Regions from separate parts of the Homo sapiens genome. Here region 2 is linked to region 1. Evidence: promoter capture Hi-C in 16 types of primary human blood cells and fetal thymus (Javierre and others, 2016). All regions are on one chromosome and are shown on one strand. The core of a region is centred on a gene start or on the middle of the fragment in contact, and the rest is flanking DNA. Distances in the headings are between cores, read along the strand shown.

Region 1 (3,136 bases), core at 478-2,977:
TCCCTAATATATTTTAATTATGCATCTGTTTTAATTGTAATCAGATTAAGACACCGGAAGGACACAAATTGGAATTTTCCCTAATGGATATAGGGGCTTTTCATCACTTTCTGAACACTAATAACGTTTAAAAGATAGGAAGAGACACCAACACAACGGTGACATTTTCCAGAAATCGATGCAGTTTCTTTGACAACACAGTTCAGGTCTCATTAGCCACCCAAACTAACCTAAGTGCAGAAGACAACTTCAGTCTCTAGGGGCGTCTTCTTCTCCAATTAGTACAAAAGAACCACTAACATCTAATGTACAACTCCCAAACAGAAATGAGAAAGCCGAGGCTTTTATAAAGTGCTGCCCAATGGATTGGTGAAGGAGGCTAGGGCGGCGGGAGAGACCATCAGCAGCATTATTTTGGCTCAAAGTAAAAGTCTATACACGTTAAAAGGGAAAGTTAAAGCAGAGAACGATCTCCCTTTTCACAATTTTGGCAACTATCAAACGTGTGTTTTAACTTCGGGAAATAAAAGTGTCCCATCAATAAAAGGAAACGGGACAGGGAGGATCTATCAGGGATCGAGGAGAGGCTTCCTCCCAACCAGACGTAAAATCACTTAATGTGCTTTGTTGCATCAAGGAATACCTAAGACTTTAATTTAATACGTTCATTAAACAGTTTCCCAAATTGCCGGGATTTCCGCTAAGAAACTCAAGCGTCTGCCAACAGCCGAGAAGCAAGGGAGAGAACCTGCTGCAAACTAGGAGCGGAAACTCCCTCGGCCCGCCCAGCGCGCCTCACGTCCCCGGTGTTTGATTTAGGTGTTAATGTTTACGTGTCGCCTAAACCATCAGGTGCTGAACCAGTTCCTCCAAGACGCACTTTGAGCCTTAAAGAGGGAAGCTTCAGAGCCACTGCGGAGTGTGCCCCCTGCAGCCCGTCGCCCCCTCCTCTCGGCCCCTTACCTGTCATCATAGCAGAAATCCGCACTCAGGGTGTTGAGATACAAGGCGAGCCCCAGAGCGCTGCTCACCAACTCTGCAATCATCTCTCCACCGCCTTCCCTCCGGCTCGGCTCCCAGCGCGAGGGCAGCAGCGGCAACAAAAAACAGAAGCATCAATCTCCACCTTCCGCCGCCTTCTCCTCCCAGCTTCACTTTTCCCTCGCTTCCCCACCCTCCCTCCCTCGGGTCCTTCCAATCCACGACTCCTCTCCTCCTCCTCGCGCCCGTCTCCGCAGCTCCTGCGTCCTCCCCGGGTGCGGGCTCACACCACACTCCCCATGCCCGGCGCCCGCAAGCGGTGAGCGGCGTTTGGGCTCCGCGTCCCCCGGCGGAAGCGCAGGGCTGGTCTTTCGCGCGGGTCGCGATCCCCACCCTAACCCATGGCAGTTTGGGGCGTCCTAGGTGAGGAGTGGGACTCGGAGGAGGTGGAAGGGTGCGGGATGGGGGCAGAGGGACCGGACCAAGCCGGGCTCTGGGACCAGCTGGAGGAAGAGAGAGAAAGAGGCGCGGGTGGGAGGGACAAGGCGAACCGCCTCCCCTCGCCGCCTCCCGGGCGCACTGCTCCGGTGTCGCTCGGGCGGACTCCGGCCGCCAAGGCAGCTGCTGCACATTCAATGTTTATTAGCTCCCTCCCAGCCCCAGCCCCAGCCCCAGCCCCAGCTCCCTTCTCCAGTGAAGTGAGAAGCGGTGGCTGGAGACTCCAGAAGCTCCCGCGTGGGGTTCTCGACGCGGCCCCCCGCGCCTGCGTGACCAACCCTCCATCCCGGCTTGGCCCAGCCCCTTTCTCCACCCAGATCCTCCCGGAAGGCTCCTCCTACCCTGCCCCTCGGGCTGGAGGCTCCTCCCACCCTCCCCGGCCTGGAGGCTCCTCCTACCAGCCTCCCGTCCTCTTGTTTCTTTCACCTTCGATTTCACTCTGGAAAGCCCCCGGGACCCAAGGGCGACGGCTGGAAGACAGCCCAAAGGAGTAGATACAGTGCACCCTGGGAGGGGAAGCTGGGAGAAAGGAGGTCGAGGAGGAGGTGGTCGGTCGCCCCGCTGCTGCCTGGCAGCGCCTGGCACGGCTGAATCTCAGCCACAGCGCTGTGTGTGCCAAGAGCTGCCAGGCGTAAGTCCGGTCAGCTGGAGAGACTTCTGAGACCGGGAGAGGAAGAACAGGTTTGGCGACTGCTGCAGCTTCGGTTGTCACAAACTCACTGGCGATCTCTCACGCACACTGTGTGTGAGACTAAATGGGGGGGAGGAGGTAGTATTGGAGAGCTTGGAGGCAACTTAGGAAGGAGAGATTTCAGCTCTTAGCCTACGGTTGGCCACAATGTCAGTGGAAAGACGTGTAGGGAGAGAAACGTTTCCTCCTTCAGTAAGGTTAAAAAGAAAGGACCCCAAAAAGGGAAAGAAAGACACACACACACCCCGCAGCAACTGCCCGGGGACCCCTTCGTGGTTTCAGAGGGACTGTCGGGTTGACCCTGAGAACACAGGAGAGAAACCTCTAGTGCAAGCCGGTACAGCATTATACTTAAACCTAGTAAGGCAGTAAGCTAATGCCCTTTCCTTTCCGCTCGGAGGCAGGACTGGATGGAAAGCATCCAACATGGTGAAATATGGTGTAGAATGGTCTGTGTAGAACAAGCTCTGGGTACTAAAGTTGCAAGACCAAAGAGGACCCAGGGCTGCCTGACACGCCTCCTCCCGGCTTGTTGGCTTTCTGGCCAGGAGAGTAGCTCCGGTGCACCGCGATGTACACTACTGCAGCGCCCCCTGCTGCATAGTAACCACAAGGTGTGGAAGACAGGTCTGTTTTGCATGCGGGCCGACTGGTTCCAACCAAGAGCAGCACCTAACCAGCAAGCTCTCCGAAACTGTGGCAAGAAATTGAGCCCCCTGGGTGTCTAGCAGTGGCCTGGAAAGAAAATACCGTGGTCTGGGCTTCTGTAGAACAAAGCTACATATTTCCCTGATTTCACAAGGAAATCTGAGAAATCTGTATTGGATACACACAGATAAAATGATGAATATTTATTAATATTATACCTGTTATGCCATCCACAGTAGCACATTTTTTGTGCCCTGGACAAATATATGTAAACAAAAATAAAAGGAATTATGTCTTTACAGGTAGGGACTGATCTTT
Region 2 (3,008 bases), core at 326-2,825, 290 kb before region 1:
TCTGAAAGAAAATGACCTTTATAAGCAATAAGAAATCATTTGAAAGTACAAAACTCACTGGTAGTAGTAAGTATGGAGAAAAACACAGAATATTATAAAATTGCAATTGTGGTACATAATTAGGTGGTACATAATTACTCATATCTTGAGTTGAAAGATTGAAAAATGAACCAATCAAAACAAATAACTACAACAACTATTCGAGACATGCACAGTATAAGAAATAAACAGAAAGAATTAAAAGTTAAAAAGCAGGAGGGTGAAATTTAAAGTGTAGAGTTATTCATTTTCTATTTTCTTGTTTATTAATCTTTTTCTCTCAGTGATAAGTTGTCATCAGTTTAAAATAATGGGTTATGAAATATTATTTGCAAGCTTCATTATAACCTTAAACTAAAATCATATAAAAGATGTACAAAAAATAAAAAGCAAGAAATTAAAACATACAACCAGAGAAAATCACCTTCACTAAAAGACAGGAAGGAAGTAAAGAAAGAAGACCACAAAATGACCAGCAAACAACAAAATGTCAAGAGTAAGTCATTATTTATAAATTATAATATTGAATATAAATGGACTAAATTCTCCAATAAAAACATTGAGTGGCTAAATAAAAAGAAAAAAAAGACCTAACAATCTGTTGCATACAAGAAACACACTTTACCTATAAAGACACACATAGACTGAAAATAAAGGGATGGAAAAAGATATTCCACACAAATGGAAAGCAAAAAAAAGCAGAAGTAGCTATACTTACACCAGACAAAACAGATTTCAAGACAGAAACTATAAAAAGAGACAAGGAGGGTCATTATATAACCACACATGTGTCAATTCAGCAAGAGGATATAACAATTGTAAATATATACGCACCCAACTCTGGAGAACCCAGATATATAAACCAAGTATTATTAGGGCTAGAGAGATAGACCCCAATACAATAATAGCTGAAGGCTTCAAACCTAATTTTCTGCATCGGGCAGATCATCCAAATAGAAAGTCAACAAAGAAAGACGACTTAATTGGCACTATAGAGCAAATGGATCTAATAGATATTTACAGAACATTTCTTGCAATGGCTGCAGAATACACATTTTTCACCGCAGCACATGGATCATTTTCAAGAATAGACCACATATTATGCCACAAAGCAGTCTTAGAAAAACTAAAAAAACCTTAAATTATATCAAGTATATTCTCTGATCACAATGGAATAAAACTAGAAATCAATAACGAGAGAAATTTTGAAAACTACACACACACACACGGAAATTAAACATATATACCAAAATAGTATTTTAGATGGATTGGTTTTGAATTCTTATTTTGCCATTAATAGCTGTATGTTTTAGAAAAATGAGTGATTTTAAAGGTCCTCAGTTTTATCATTTACAACATGAAGGGCTAAGAATAAATAACTCCATAATCTCCAAAATGGATAATCATTTGTAGGTTCACCAGTGCTCAGATATTTATATACATTCATTTCATAAAGAGGTAAAAATATCCTAGTTTAAAATATCCTGCCTCATTCTTAATTTTTAGTTGATCTATTCAAGATTGGCTGCATCTAGATCAAGTCTTGGTTATTCCATTTAATAGTTATAACTCTGTTTTCTAATTATAAACATTATACCTGTTCATTGAAGAAAGTCTGAAAGATCATAATTTTATAAGACTGAAAGAATTATATCACCCATAGATAGCCACTGGCAAATTTTTATGTTTTCTCCAAGAATTTGAATTACATATTGAAAAAAATCAATTATATAGTAAAATATTTTGCTAGTTTTAAGCATCTAGGTTCCTTCCAGTGTTTTGTTATTTTAAATAAAACTATGCCAATTTTCCCAAAATTCAGTTTTCTCATTCGAAATCAGTATTCAGTTTGTTGTCTATTCAAATTCCCCTCCCAACATTTTATGTAAGTACTGCACTTCTGCAATTATCATTGTATTTTTTAATTATCTTTTTAAAACACAACTCTTATTATAACCTCAAAATAAATGTATAGAAGGAGAATTCTTGGACTATCTTTTATACAAAATATTATTAAAGTATCTTTTATACACAAAACATTTTCTATATCATGGAGATATGTATCATTTTCTAATTATATAGTTTCATTATTAAAATGAACTATGTATTCCACATGAAATATACTTTGCTATGTGGTATGAGACAAGTATCTGATGTTATTCTTTCCCAAAGATTTACTCAATTGTCTAGATCAACTATTATACAAATTTCCTTCCCTGACCAATATTTAATTTTACATTTATTATCTACAACAACCTTAAATAATTTGTTATTATTTCCAGGGTCTCCACTTTGTCCTATTGGTCTGGTTTTCTTTTCTCATGGGTACAATATCACTCTAATCACTTCATCTAATATTTGAGTATCTAGTAGAACAAACAAGTCTTAAACTTTATTATTCATTAAGACTTTCTTGGCTATATTTCACTGTTTTAGAATCATTTTGTCAAGTTTTTGATAAAATTCTTTTCAGAATGTTTATTGCTATTAAATTAAAATCTATAAATAAATTTGAGAAAAAGAGAATTTTTACAAAATTGAGTTTCCCCATTCGAGAATAGTATTCAATTCTTGATTTATTCAAACTCCCTCTCCCACTTTTTATGTACTTACGGAACCTAGCTAGGTAAGCAATTATAATCTTTCTGCTACAAAACCAGACTATGAGATGCATGGAAGCAGACACACAATCTTTTATATATTTTTCTGTCTTCAACCTAAGTCCAGAAAGCTTTGGCTCCAGAGAGTACTCGATAAATAGCTGACAAATACCTGATCACATTATGTATCTACTTGAATTTAGATGTTACATTTTTTTACGAAGTATGCCCTTGAAGAGAAATTTCCAGATAATTCTTTTTTTCTAGAACCTGCAGTCCGATGATCATTTTTTACTTCACAGTGTTGAGAAGCATTAGAAACACTACTAGAAACATTAGCGAGTCTCCCTTTTAAAAATACATTTATGC

The links. Contacts are between HindIII fragments. The CHiCAGO score rates a contact against its expected background, and 5 or more counts as called.
Region 2: a fragment that was not itself captured here is called in contact with the fragment with the promoter of TMTC2 in region 1 in 1 of 17 cell types (monocytes); the score reaches 6.8 in monocytes.

The regions. Positions count from the first base shown.
Region 1 is chr12:82,685,497-82,688,632 of GRCh38, reverse strand. It overlaps TMTC2 (transmembrane O-mannosyltransferase targeting cadherins 2), which reads right to left and starts at 1,727. Exons shown (of 12, transcript NM_152588.3): 1 at 964-1,727. The coding sequence starts at 1,046. RefSeq lists silencers at 707-766, 1,127-1,176, 1,747-1,846, 2,697-2,776 and enhancers at 1,887-2,096, 2,117-2,266. The HindIII fragment of the contact is 3,615 bases long and covers 904-3,136 here.
Region 2 is chr12:82,976,737-82,979,744 of GRCh38, reverse strand. All of the region lies in intron 7 of TMTC2 (transmembrane O-mannosyltransferase targeting cadherins 2), which reads right to left. Among named protein-coding and RNA genes, the nearest start is that of TMTC2, 290 kb to the right of the region's middle. The HindIII fragment of the contact is 2,395 bases long and covers 378-2,772 here.